4 separate regions of the Homo sapiens genome follow, and all the other regions are linked to region 3. The links are contacts of gene promoters, found by promoter capture Hi-C in blood cells and fetal thymus (Javierre and others, 2016). All regions are on one chromosome and are shown on one strand. Each heading gives the region's core, a stretch centred on a gene start or on the middle of the fragment in contact. The rest is flanking DNA. Distances are from core to core; before and after follow the strand shown. Region 1 holds the start of KCTD19 (potassium channel tetramerization domain containing 19). Region 2 holds the start of FHOD1 (formin homology 2 domain containing 1). Region 3 holds the start of CES3 (carboxylesterase 3). Region 4 holds the start of HSD11B2 (hydroxysteroid 11-beta dehydrogenase 2).

Evidence for each region. Contacts are between HindIII fragments. The CHiCAGO score rates a contact against its expected background, and 5 or more counts as called.
Region 1: a contact is called between the fragment with the promoter of KCTD19 here and the fragment with the promoter of CES3 in region 3, in 4 of 17 cell types (activated CD4 T cells, naive B cells, M1 macrophages and 1 more). The highest score is 6.6, in activated CD4 T cells.
Region 2: a contact is called between the fragment with the promoter of FHOD1 here and the fragment with the promoter of CES3 in region 3, in 2 of 17 cell types (activated CD4 T cells and total CD4 T cells). The highest score is 5.2, in activated CD4 T cells.
Region 4: the fragment with the promoter of HSD11B2 here is called in contact with the fragment with the promoter of CES3 in region 3 in 5 of 17 cell types (naive CD4 T cells, total CD8 T cells, erythroblasts and 2 more); the score reaches 6.6 in naive CD4 T cells.

Annotation. Positions count from the first base shown.
Region 1 is chr16:67,325,443-67,328,267 of GRCh38, reverse strand. KCTD19 (potassium channel tetramerization domain containing 19) reads left to right here and starts at 1,527. Exons shown (of 16, transcript NM_001100915.3): 1 at 1,527-1,563. The coding sequence starts at 1,561. It overlaps LRRC36 (leucine rich repeat containing 36), which reads right to left and starts at 1,453. Exons shown (of 14, transcript NM_018296.6): 1 at 1,336-1,453. The coding sequence starts at 1,405. RefSeq lists a silencer at 1,411-1,560. The HindIII fragment of the contact is 1,968 bases long and covers 555-2,522 here.
Region 2 is chr16:67,246,160-67,249,073 of GRCh38, reverse strand. It overlaps FHOD1 (formin homology 2 domain containing 1), which reads left to right and starts at 1,593. Exons shown (of 22, transcript NM_013241.3): 1 at 1,593-1,864. The coding sequence starts at 1,664. SLC9A5 (solute carrier family 9 member A5) reads right to left here and starts at 95. Exons shown (of 16, transcript NM_004594.3): 1 at 1-95. The coding sequence starts at 59. RefSeq lists silencers at 34-143, 444-533, 554-643, 1,286-1,655, 2,556-2,655 and enhancers at 1-358, 2,759-2,914. The HindIII fragment of the contact is 13,502 bases long and covers 1-2,914 here.
Region 3 is chr16:66,959,933-66,962,931 of GRCh38, reverse strand. CES3 (carboxylesterase 3) reads right to left here and starts at 1,666. Exons shown (of 13, transcript NM_024922.6): 1 at 1,543-1,666. The coding sequence starts at 1,624. RefSeq lists enhancers at 1,475-1,684, 1,469-1,970, 1,775-2,024. The HindIII fragment of the contact is 21,813 bases long and covers 1,653-2,999 here.
Region 4 is chr16:67,429,654-67,432,780 of GRCh38, reverse strand. HSD11B2 (hydroxysteroid 11-beta dehydrogenase 2) reads right to left here and starts at 1,660. Exons shown (of 5, transcript NM_000196.4): 1 at 1,268-1,660. The coding sequence starts at 1,532. RefSeq lists silencers at 1,542-1,721, 1,942-1,991. The HindIII fragment of the contact is 16,145 bases long and covers 1-3,127 here.

The DNA of each region.
Region 1 (2,825 bases), core at 278-2,777, 370 kb before region 3:
GTGCTGGGATTACAGTCGTGAGCCACCGCGCCTGGCCCTCACTGTACAATTATTATATTACCCACAGAATAAATTAATTGAATTATTTTAACAGTCAAAATGAGTAAATATTACATATTTCCCCCCTCTACCAAATTAATCATTAGACTACCGACATGCTCTAGTATATCCTTCCTGTTCTGTTCTTGACTGCACATCATACGCTTCAGCTACCATCTATTTCTGCAGTCTCTTTTACAGCTAAAATTTTCAGCAAAAGTTCTTACTTTCACTGTCTCTTCCCCTCAAATATCATTTCCCTTTTTCATCCCACTCCAATCTGGTTTCCCTCCTCCCCACCCTCCCAAAACTCCCTCTGTCAAGGTCACCAGTAAGTTCCATGTTGCTAAATCTAACAGACACTCTGCATTTAAGTTGCTCAGCCTGTCAATAGCATTTGGCACAGTTGGCCATTGCTTGCTCGATACACTACCCCTTCTCAAATTCCAAGATACCACATTCTTCCTCTATACAACCTCTAAACACTGAAATATTCCAAGGTTGAGTCTTAAGCTTTCTTTCACTTCTCCATCGACATTCTCTCCTTAGCTGAGTTCATCCACTCCCGTAGCTTTAAATACCACCTATTGCTAATGTCTCCAAAATTTTCATCTCTAACCCTGACCTCTCCTCTGAGGTCCAGACCCATATATCCAACTGCCTACTAGGTACCTTACACTTGGATGTCTAATAGACATTTTATTATTTATTTATTTTATTTATTATTATTATTTTTGAGATGGAGTCTCGCTCTGTCGCCCAGGCTGCAGTGCAGTGGTGCGATCTCGGCTAACTGCAACCTCCGCCTCCCGGGTTCAAGCGATTCTCCTGCCTCAGCCTCCCGAGTAGCTGGGATTATAGACTTGAACCACCACGCCGGGCTAATTTTTGTATTTTAGTAGAGACGGGGTTTCACCATGTTGGCCACGCTCAGGTGATCCACCCGCCTCCGCCTCCCAAAGTGCTGGGATTACAGCGGTCAGCCACCGCCCCCCGCAGTTCTGTCACCTGCGGCAGGGTCCCCTGTTAACCTTGTTTCTCCTTCCCTACTTCACACTCCCCTCTTCTCTCTCAATTCCTCGGGCTCTGCCCCACACCCTCCCGTTACTTCAGTTCCTCCACCTCCACCTCCCTCTAACCTTCTGCCTCAAGTTATCCCCCCGCCCCCCAGCCTCAGGTACCGCTTCTCTGTGGTTCCCTCGCCTCTATCTCAGGTTCCCCGCCTTCCACTTCAGTTTTCTTTCCACAGCTTCTGACCCTACGTTCCCAGTCCACACCCTCCCGGCCAGACCCTACCCGGCTGCTCCAGCGTCAGCGCCCCCAGGCGGCGAATGCCTTCCTCGTCCAGCTCCCATTGCTCCGCCATCCCCGCCCGCCGCTCACCTGCCACCGCCCGCGAGACCACCCGGCGCACGCCAGGCCCCGCCCACTGCCCCGCCCCCCGCGCGCGCGCCGCCGCGACCCCGGGAACCGTTATTGGCCGGGTCACAAGCCCGCCCGCCCGCTGCTGGAGCCGCGACCATGGTACGGAGCCCGCTCTGGCGGGGGCGCCAAAAGCACCAAAGCGGCGAATGGGGGCCGCTGTGGCCAAGGATTGGGGCTAAGTGGTTCGAGACCTGGCTCTGGGGCATGGGAGAGAGCGAGGGGCCCCCAGCCGGGAAGGATTTGGGGGGCTGGCTCTGAGGAGTTAGAATAACGCTCTGTCTTGAGGGATGAAGTGTTCTGGCTCTGAGGATGTGGGGGACTCCGGTTCTGAGGGCTGGGCGTGTGCCCCTTTGACGGGGTGGTCTTCATATCTCAGCGCTGGGGGATGCTGACTTTGGGGCAAGGCGAGGGTGTGTGTGAAGGGGAGATCCAAATCTGAAGGATTGGAGCGTGGGGACAGAACTCTAAGGCATGATGGGGAGCTCCAGATCTGAAAGGTTGGGAATCCTGGCTCTGAGGAGTTGGGGTCCTGTCTTTAGAGCATGAGGAAGTTCTAGCTCTAGAAATTGACTTGGACGGGCTGGGCGCGGTGTCTCACGCCTGTAATCCCAGCACTTTGGGAGCCCGAGGTGGGCGGATCACCTGAGGTCAAGAGTTCAAGACCAGCCTGGCCAACATGGTGAAACCCCATCTCTACTAAAAATACAAAAATTAGCCGGGTGTGGTGGCACGGCCTGTAGTCCCAGCTACTCGGGAGGCTGAGGCAGGAGAATCGCTTGAACCCGGGAGGTGGAGGTTGCAGTGAACCGAGATTGCACCACTGCACTCCAGCCTGGGCGACCTGAGTGACAGAGCCAGACCTTGTCTCAAAAAAAAAAAAAAAAAAAAGGTAAGAAATTTACTTGGACGGAGCTTCTTCGGGGGAGAAGGATCAGCGTGGGAAAGAGAGAAGCTCTTTGTAATGGGGTGGGGATGACTGCTTTAGGGCTACCCCGTTTCCTGAAGTCAGTCCGGCAAGAAGCCTTTTGTCTTTCAAGCACCACAGGTTCCCCTAAGCTTGCCTGTGACTGAGGGCTGTCGCCAGGCTGCGATAGCTCTGCACTAACCAGCCCCTGAGTAGTCTTTGGGAAAGAACAGCCGCATCCCTAACCCCTACCCTCACTCCAGCAGGCACTTAAGAGCCCACCTGTGGATGGGACATGTATGTAAGAAGGAGCCAGGACCCTCTTGTCACACCCTATCCTTAACAAGAAAAGAGGGTGGGCTGGGCGTGGTGGCTCACGTCTGTAATCCCAGCACTTTGGGAGGCCGAAGCATGTGGATCACGAGGTCAGGAGATCGAGACCATCCTGGCTAACACA
Region 2 (2,914 bases), core at 344-2,843, 290 kb before region 3:
GGCTCTTCGGCCGCCCCCGCCAGGGGCAGCGCGAGCAGGGACAGGGCGGCGCGCAGCATCCTGCCGCCTGCCCAGCCGCCCTCCCGGCACCGCACGGCCGCCGGCCCCGCGTCGCCGCCGCCACCTACCGGGCGCCCCCGCGTCACAGGCACGTGGGGCCCGCTCCCCCCAATCCCGGCTCCGATACCCCCAAGCCAGGTCCAGGCTCCGAGACCCTGCCTCGGACTCTCGTAGTCGGGGACTCTCTCCTCTTTCCTCCCTAAATCAGTCCCAGCTCCGGAAATTCCCCAGTGCAGCTCTCCCCCAAGTTCCACAACCTACTCCTTCGAGTCCGCGCCCCCAAACCTCCCCAAAACCGCCCCCACCAGATCCAGAGCGGTGCGCGGCCACGGCCCCCCTGGGGCAGCCCGCAGCGGGAAGGGCGGGGGTCTGCGGGGGGCGCGGTCAGGACGGGAGGGGCACGGCTCCTCCTCGGCCAGCGCTGCTGTGCGGCGAGCAGCACCCCCCTGGGACCAAGGCGCGGCCGGGTGCAAAACGCAGGGGACCGTGCTTGGCCGCCCTCCGCCCACGTTGCCAAGCCCAGGACCCCCTGCCGGCCCCCACCCGGACCTGAGCTGCGCACGCGCACTGGACGCTCCCCAAAGCAGTGACGGACAACGCTGCCCCCAACGTCCCAGAAACCCTAAGGCCCAGACTGGCCCAGCTCGTGCCAGGCGAAGAGGGAGGCTGTTCTTCATCTCCCAAACCAAGGGGCACCTGGCCCTCCCTTTCAGTCACACTACAGAGAACTGTCTCATCTCTTTGATGAAGCTGACAGGAACCTATGGAAAACCCAGCCTACTGATTCCCTTCAAACTAGGCGAGATGCACCCAACTTTTTCCAAATCTGAGGGGCATTCGGCTCATAGCGCCCCAAACAGAGGAGGACCGTCTCCACTTTTCATTCAGGCTGAGGGGCACCCATCCCACTTTTTCTCCAAAACTGAGGGGAACGTGTTCTATCTGCCCCCTCAAACTGACTCCTCCCAATCTTTTCCCAGAAAACTGAAGGGCATCCTTCCCTCTTCCTCCCACAACTAAAGGGAACTGATCCCACCTCTTCCTTCAAACTGGGTGGAATTTATTCTCACTTCTTGCTCCAAATTGAAGGGACCCCCTCTCACTGCTTTCCCTAAATGAGGAAACCACAGGGACTCACCCCTCAAATGGAAGGAATGAGGGCTATCTTGTCCCTCAACTGAGAGAGACCTGGCCGGCCACTATCTAAAGAAACTTCTGCCCCATCTGCCCTAACACCCCTCAAAGAGAACGCAGCCTCACTATCCCCAGACCAAAGAAAGCCTCCCCGCCTTCTGCGCGTTCTCGAAGGTGGGGCGCGAGCTCGGTTTTTCCCGCCCTCCTAGCCAGTGAACTAACGGGATTCCCATTGGGCCCTGTGAGTGGCTAGCGGCGGCCCCGCCTCCGGCAGTGGTTACCTCCTGGCGCGCACTCGGGGACTAATCTTGGCTCCACCCCCTTCCTCGGCCCCGCCTCCGTCTGGCCCCGCCCCTCCAGCCGCGTCCGGTCCGGCCGGGCCCGAACCGCGGAGCTACAGTGTGCTTTGAGTAGAAGCTGCACTGGGGCCGGGACTCGGAGGCGCGCTGCGTGAGCCGGCCGCAGAGCCATGGCGGGCGGGGAAGACCGCGGGGACGGAGAGCCGGTATCAGTGGTGACCGTGAGGGTGCAGTACCTGGAAGACACCGACCCCTTCGCATGTGCCAACTTTCCGGAGCCGCGCCGGGCCCCCACCTGCAGCCTGGACGGGGCGCTGCCCTTGGGCGCGCAGATACCCGCGGTGCACCGCCTGCTGGGAGCGCCGCTCAAGGTGAGGGAGGCCGGAGAAAGGTTGGGGCGATCGGGGGTTCAGGGTGGGCGCCATGAAAACTGGTGGGAGGTGCTCCGCGGGAAGAGGCTGGAGCGAGTGTTCTTCTCCGGAAAAGTCTTGGGCTGGGGTCCCAGGGTCCACTCTGCCCCGCCTGCGGGGGAGTCCCCTCTCAAGTTGAGGGGAAACTGAAGAGGGGTGCCAGGAACTTGGCTCCGCCATTCTGACTGCCCTTCGAATTAGGCGCACCTGGGGAGGTGCTCGAGTTCCACTCGCCGTCGGTCTGCCAGGGTGGCTTCCCTGGTCAGAGTGACGGTAGCCGCTTGGGCTGTAGCGGACCCTGGAGGCGGAGCTGGGGAGGGACCAGCTTCCACCTGCTTCAGGTGAGGTGGGGGCGGGACCACGAGGAGGGGCGGGCCCGAGGCGGACTACTAGAGGTGGCAGAGGTTTCCTGCGGTGTCAGGAAGCTGGATTGGGGCTTGACCCTGTAGGTCAATGGGAGTATGGGAGTGCCGGCCGAGGAGAGACTTCACGGGGTGAGGGGAGTCCCCGCGAAGCGGTCTGGCCCGGGATCCGCAGAGCGCAGGAGGCTGCACGGGTGTAAAAGCCCTTTGAGTCACCGCTCCCGCCCCCACCCCCGGACACTCGCCGCCCATCGGCCCGCGCCTGAAAGTGAGAGGGAGGGCCGGACTAATTTTAAACAGCCGGCCTGCCCTACTTTGCTGCCGCCCCGAAGCGGACTTGTGCACAGTGCGGAAAGAGGCCCTTTTCCAGATGGCCAGCCTACCTCCTCTCCCCTCCCTCTCGCCGCCGTCAGCCCCCCGCAGGCAGCCCTTTCCGGCGCGCTGTTTCCGGGCCAGGACTCTGGGAGGCGCACTACCACCTCCACAAGCTCCCCACCAGCCCGGCCGCCTCCAGTGCTGGAGAAGAGGAGAGAGAGTCGGGGTGGGTGCCCTCCCCTGCTCCCAGCCTCAGCTGGGCGGCGAGTTGCGTAAACTTGCCCCTTGGGCCTGGGGTCTTCCCTGGAATGTGCCCCGGGCCCCCAGCCCGCAT
Region 3 (2,999 bases), core at 417-2,916:
ACTTGCCCATTTCTTTGTTTTTATTTTTTGTGTTTGAGACAGGGTCTAGCTCTGTTGACCAAGCTGGAGTGCAGTGGCACGATCTTGGCTCACTGCAACCTCTGACTCCCGAGTTCAAGCGACTCCAGGGCCTCAGCCTCCCAAGTAGCTGGGATTACAGGTGTGCACCACAACGCCTGGCTAATTTTTGTATTTTTAGTAGAGACGGGGTTTCATCATGTTGGCCAGGCTGGTCTCGAACTCCTGACCTCAAGTAATCCATCCACCTGGGGCTCCCAAAGTGCTGGCATTACAGGCATGAGCCATCATGCCCAGCCCTGAATTATTTTTTAAAAAGTAGAGATGGGGTCTCATTATGTTGCCCAGGCTGGTCTCAAACCCCTGGGCTCAAGCAATCCTTTCACCTCAGCCTCCCCAAGTGCTGGGACGACAGGTGTGAGCCATCATGCCCAGCTGGCACCATGTTTCTTGTACGGCCTGCAGAACTGTGGCCTAACTAAACTTCTTTTCTTTGTGAATTACCCAGCTTCCTGTATTCTTTTACAACAACACAAACAGACTAAGACTGGAGGACTGCCTCTCCCAGGCTAGACAATTCCTAGAGATAGGAGGCAGCTCTCTGGGGAGGTGGAATTGGCAGGCATCTCTCTAGGGAGCAAAGGCAAACCAGTCCAGAGCCATACCCAACCACCTCCTTTATACAGCTCTCAGCTCCTGGCTGCCATCCACCAGCCATAATCACCACAGAGCCGGGTACCAGGAAGCTGGCTGGGGACAGCCCCTTTCCCCAGAGCCTGCTGCCAATCGTAAACCTCTTTAGCCTGCCTTGCCTATTCCTTCCCGTGGCAACCGTGTCAAAGGGGCTTGCCCACATTTTCCCCCTGCTCCCTCTGCCTCCTGGCTGATGCCACCTGGTGCTTCCCTCTGTGGCCCTATGTGGCATGGCCTGCTTCCTGTTCACAGGGAACTACGAGCAAACTCCTTCCCTCATGATAGTCATTTGCATATCTGCTTGTCTTACTATACTTCATTAAAACAAATCTCAGGCCCCCTTAAGACATAAAGACAGGCCAGGTGCGGTGGCTCACGCCTGTAATCCCAGCACTTTGGGAGGCCGAGGCAGGTGGGTCACCTGAGGTCAGGAGTTTGAGACCAGCCTGGCCCACATGGTGAAACCCCATCTCTCCTAAAAATACAAAAATTAGCCGGCCATGGTGGCAGGTGCCTGTAATCCCAGCTACTCAGGAGGCTGAGGCAGGAGAATCGCTTGAATCCAGGAGGCGGAGGTTGCAGTGAGCCGAGATCGCGCCATTGCACTCCAGCCTGGGTAACAAGAGCAAAACTCTGTCTCAAACAACAACAACAAAAACAACGAAACAAATACAGCAAGAGCAGAGCGCCTGCCCAGAGAGAATGCACAACCCCTGGTCTGCCTCCAAACAGGACTGTTTCCTGAGCGGTCGGCCCACTGCTCCCTGTCCCTGTCTCACTCTTGACTCCTCCACACCAAGTACCTCTGCAGGCCCAGCAGGTGTGTCTTACCAGTGGCTGTGGCAGGGCATGCCAGGAGCAGACAGACCACCCCGACCAGGACCCCGGACTCCACTCTCACTGCTCTCTCCATTCTCCTTACAACTGGTTCGACAGAAGCTTCAGAAGGTGGAATAAGATCCCTGCCCTTCAGCACCACCGATCTCTAAAGGGCTGTGATATAGAACCTCCAAGGACAGCGCCACCTAGCTGGTGGCCAGCCCCATGCTCAGGCTGAGCCAGAGGCAGGGCTAGATGAGTGCCCTGCAGAGGCCTGGTTGATATGACAGCCCTCCCCGTCCCACTGTTTTCAAATTCCAGCTCTCCTGACTTGGTGATCTCCATGAAATCCTGTGCGTTCATCCCAAGGTGACCACATCACTGACCCTAGGAAGTGGTGGCCAGTGACCCTGGGGTGCCACTCCGAGTGGGCAACCCAGCCTGAGGTGAGGGCTTGATATGGTTTGGATGTTTTGTCCCCTCCAAATCTCATGTTAAAATGTGAAAGAAAATAAAACAGTGATGATAATAGGACCCACCTCATAGCATTGAAGTGAGGGTACATGTTTGCATGTGTGTGTGAGTGTGTGTGTGAAAACATGAGGCTTGGGACTGGGTGTGGTGGCTCATACCTGTAATCCCAGTGCTTTAGGAGGATGGGGCAGGAAGATCGCTTGAGCCCAGGAGTTTGAGACCAGCCTGGGCAACACAGGGAGACACGTCTCTAGAAAAAATAAAAAAAATTAGCCAGGTGTGATGGTGCATGCCTGTGGTCCCAGCTACTTGGGAGGCTGAGGTGAGAGGATCACTTGAGCCCAGGTTGTCGAGACTGCAGTGAGCTGTGATAATGCCACTGCACTCTAGGCTAGGCTATAGAGCAAGACAAAGAAAGAGAGAAAGAGAGAGAGAGAAGAAAGAAAGGAGAGAGAGAAAGAAGGAGAGAGAGAAAGGAGAGAGAGAAAGAAAAAGAGACAGAAAAAGAGAAAGAAACAAAAAGAGAAAAAAGAAAAATAGAGAGAGAAAGAAAGAGAGAGAGGGAGGGAGGGAGGGAGGGGAGGGGAGAGGAGGGGAGGGGCTTGGAACCAGAACTCATGGAAGCCTGAGGAGAGGAGAGTCTGGGAACCAGAACTGATGGAAGCCTGCTCTTGACCGGGGCGGGGATCTGCAGGGCATCTGTCTCTCTGCTGGCTTAGGAGGCTCCCACCCCCAGGGAGGGCAGGACTCACTTCTGGGCCTCAGTGTCAGGAACATGGCTGGCTGGGAGTAGGCGGTGGGAGGATGGATAGATATTTGCTGGCCCAGTGAAAGACAGAGTGAGGGTTGTGCCTAAACACGATGCCAGATCCTCTTCCGGGGCTCCAGCTGGCACCCAGAGCTGAAGAGACAGGCTTTAGGATGAAACTTCCCTTCTGCCAAAAATAACTAGTGCCAGCTGGGCATTGTGGCACAAGTCTGTAGTCCCAGCTACT
Region 4 (3,127 bases), core at 411-2,910, 470 kb before region 3:
ATCTCTACCATCTTTGCTGGAGTGCAAGGCCCTTGTGCCTCCTTCCCCCCTACTCTGCCTCAGCAGTCTGGCTTCTTACCTGATTCATGGCCCCTCCCAAGGAAACCACCTCATATCCCCTTCTCCCCACCCCCACACCCAGACTGGCTGTCCCCTACAGAGACCGTGTGTACTCCTGCCTTAAGCCTTTGTCCCACATCCTTTCTCTGATCCGAGATCCCTTTCATACTCCACTTATCTCCACTCATGCTCCAAGGCCCCACTCAAGGATTTCCTCCTCCGGAAAATTCTCCCAGCCCCATCTGATCACACAGGGCCCCTACTAGACCGAGGTCTCTGAGAAGCCAGGTTGCTGGCTGCCCCAGCAAAGGCCCAGCGCAAGGACAAAGCCTGGAGCACCTGTCCAAAGCCGTGGGTATTGGCGAGAGACCAGGCTGCTCCTCCCACGATGCAATGGAGTCAGTGCCCCCTGGCCTTTCTCCCCCTCCCCACTTCCGGCGGGCCTCCAGCCCCCCCCCCCCTTCCCCTTCCCTCCCTCTGGTGACAGATTTATTCCCTGCTCCAGACAAAGGAGCTCAGCTAGGCGGCCAGAGGCACCTGAGCCCAGCTCTCTAAGAGCTCCTTCCTGGGCACAGAGGACCAGGAGGGCTTGGGGGTGGGGTGCTGGGTGTAGGCTCCAAACTACTGCCTCAGCAGTTTGGCAGTGGGTGGCTAGACAGAAAGACAGCTGAATGTCCAGCTGCCCCTCACGGTGACCTCTAGCTTTTCTGAACTCCAAGGATCCCAGCCAGTGGGGGATGGGTGGGGTGGGGAAGTTCCCCATCTAAGCTCTTCCCTCTGGCCCGAGGAATGGGAGATGGGTATCTTAGGTGGGGATGTCAGGCAGAGTTCAAGGGGTAACGATCCTCCCTTCTCAAGGCCTCCGAAGTCCCCTGAGACTGCTCTCTTGGGGAAGGGAATGGCATAAACTCTCAAACTCCAGGAGGTTCCCTCTTCTCAGCCACCAGTCAGTTTCCTTCTCGAACCGGCCCACTCCCTGTCTCACTTTCCCTCCAACACTCCCCGCAGCGGCAGGTAGTGAACCCGGGCTTGGGGAGGTGCCCGGCGCTCCCTATTTGGCTCGCTCCCTGCACCCAGGGGTGGAGAACTCTCCCACTCTTGCGCTGAGGAGCCCGCCTTGGCTGTGCCCATGGGGAGTCAGTCCTGTTGAGTGTCCAGTCCCGCCCTCGAGCCTGGAGTCCCCGCGCTCCGCGACCCGCGCACTCACCGGTGATGAGCACCGCGCGAGTGGCCACCGGCAGGCGCTGCGGGCGCGCCAGGCGGGACAACGCGATCCAGCCGGCGGCGGCCAGCACGGCGAGTGCGGCCGGCGGGGGCAGCAGGCGCTGGCACAGCCAGTCGAGCGCGGCCAGCAGCGCCAGCGCCGCCAGCAGCGGGCGGCCCAGACGCAGGTCTGAGCGCAGCAGCTGCAGCAGCGCGCGGGCAGCCACGAGCAGCCAGGCGCCGCCCGACGGCCAAGGCCAGCGCTCCATGGCGGCCCAGCGGGCTGGGGCGGGGCGGGGCGGGGGCCGGGCCGGGGAGCGGGGAGAGAGAGCTTCTAGGCCGGGGCGCGGAGTGCGGGGGTACACCGGCCTGGGGCGCGAGAGGGACACTCGCTTTCTCTGCTCGCCCTCGGGCCGAGCTTATGAAGAGCCCCGGGGGCGGGGGAGAGGGCGGGGAGCGGGAGGGGCGGGGGCGGGGCTTTCCTTCACTTCTCTCCCGGCACCCCCCGCAGGGCAGGTGCTCCCCCCCCGCCCCGCCCCCTCGACCAGATTCGATTTGGAAAAAGCCGGAACAAAGTCCCAAAGTTGCTGCGCTCGAGGAGCCGCCTGGCTGCGGGCGGTGCTTGGGAGAGGGCCCGTCGGTCCAGCCCGGGTGCCCGGCCTCAGCTCTCCGCCGCGCCCCCACCCACACGCCCGGGGCCGCCAAGCCGCCGCGCTCAGGTGAGCACATGCCACTCACGCTTGTTCGGGACACCTGAGGACACGCACAACCGGCATCCCGGTGCCCTTTGCTGATCGCACCACCGCGGCCGCCAAGCCTGCAGGAACACCGCGAGGAACCAGCCGGTGCTCACCCGGTCTCCGCTGCCGCTGCCGCTGCCGCCCGCGCCCGTACACGCGCCGCACTCCCACGTGGTCGGCTGCGCCAGGTCCCTGGCGCACACACCCTAAGGCGCGCTCACCCCTGAGCAGCTCGCGGCCACAAAACCTGCCTGGGACAGGGGCTGGCGGGGGAACAGGACGACCGCTCCCGGTTCTTGGAGTCTCTGCCCCGTCTTTCCCTTTCCTTCCAGGGCTTAAACCTGGGGACGCACAACCCCACTTCCTGCCTCACAAATGTATGTGTGTGGGGGTCAGTGGAGGGTGGGGTGTCAGAGGAAGCACCTAGGTCTCCCATTACTTATGGCCCACCCCCGCCAACCCCAAGAGCCAGGCCAGAGGGACGTCGGTGAAGGCAGCCTCTAGGACAGGGTGGTCCCTGCCTTGCTCCCCTGAACCCCCAGGGGGTAAAATAAGTGGTATGAGTGTGGGTGGATTTTTCTGCCTGCGTGTGTGAAGGTCTCCATGCTTGTGTGTGGCCCAGTGGCCCCCCACCCTGCCCACCCCCGTGTCTGGCACCCTGTGCCTAGCATCCATGCCAGGGCTCTGCCAGGCACTGGGAGTTGGTGCCAGTACCTGGCTGCAGGCTTGATGCTGAGAGCAGTAGGTGTAGCCCTCGACAGAGGGGTCCCTGCTTCCCGTGGGCTTCCAGGCCGTGCTCAGTGCCTCATCCCTGCCCTCCCAAGATCCTGGGAGGTTGTGGACTCCCTGTCACACTTCCTAGCCCTGTTGCTCATTCTCTCTTAGGTGCCCAGGCTCTGCCAGGGTTTCAGGGCAATGCCTCCTCCAAAGCCCTCTCTGCCACCAGACACAGCCCCCTGGTGAGCCAGGGAAATCTCAGGGGAGGCTGGGAGCCAGACCCACCTAAAGGGAGAGTCTCTGGGTGGAGGACCAATTTGCCCTGAGCCACTCCTGTGCCTCCACCTATCCCTCCTCCTAAGGACAGATGACAGGCAAGCCCCAGACCTGGGAGGCAGGACTTGAAT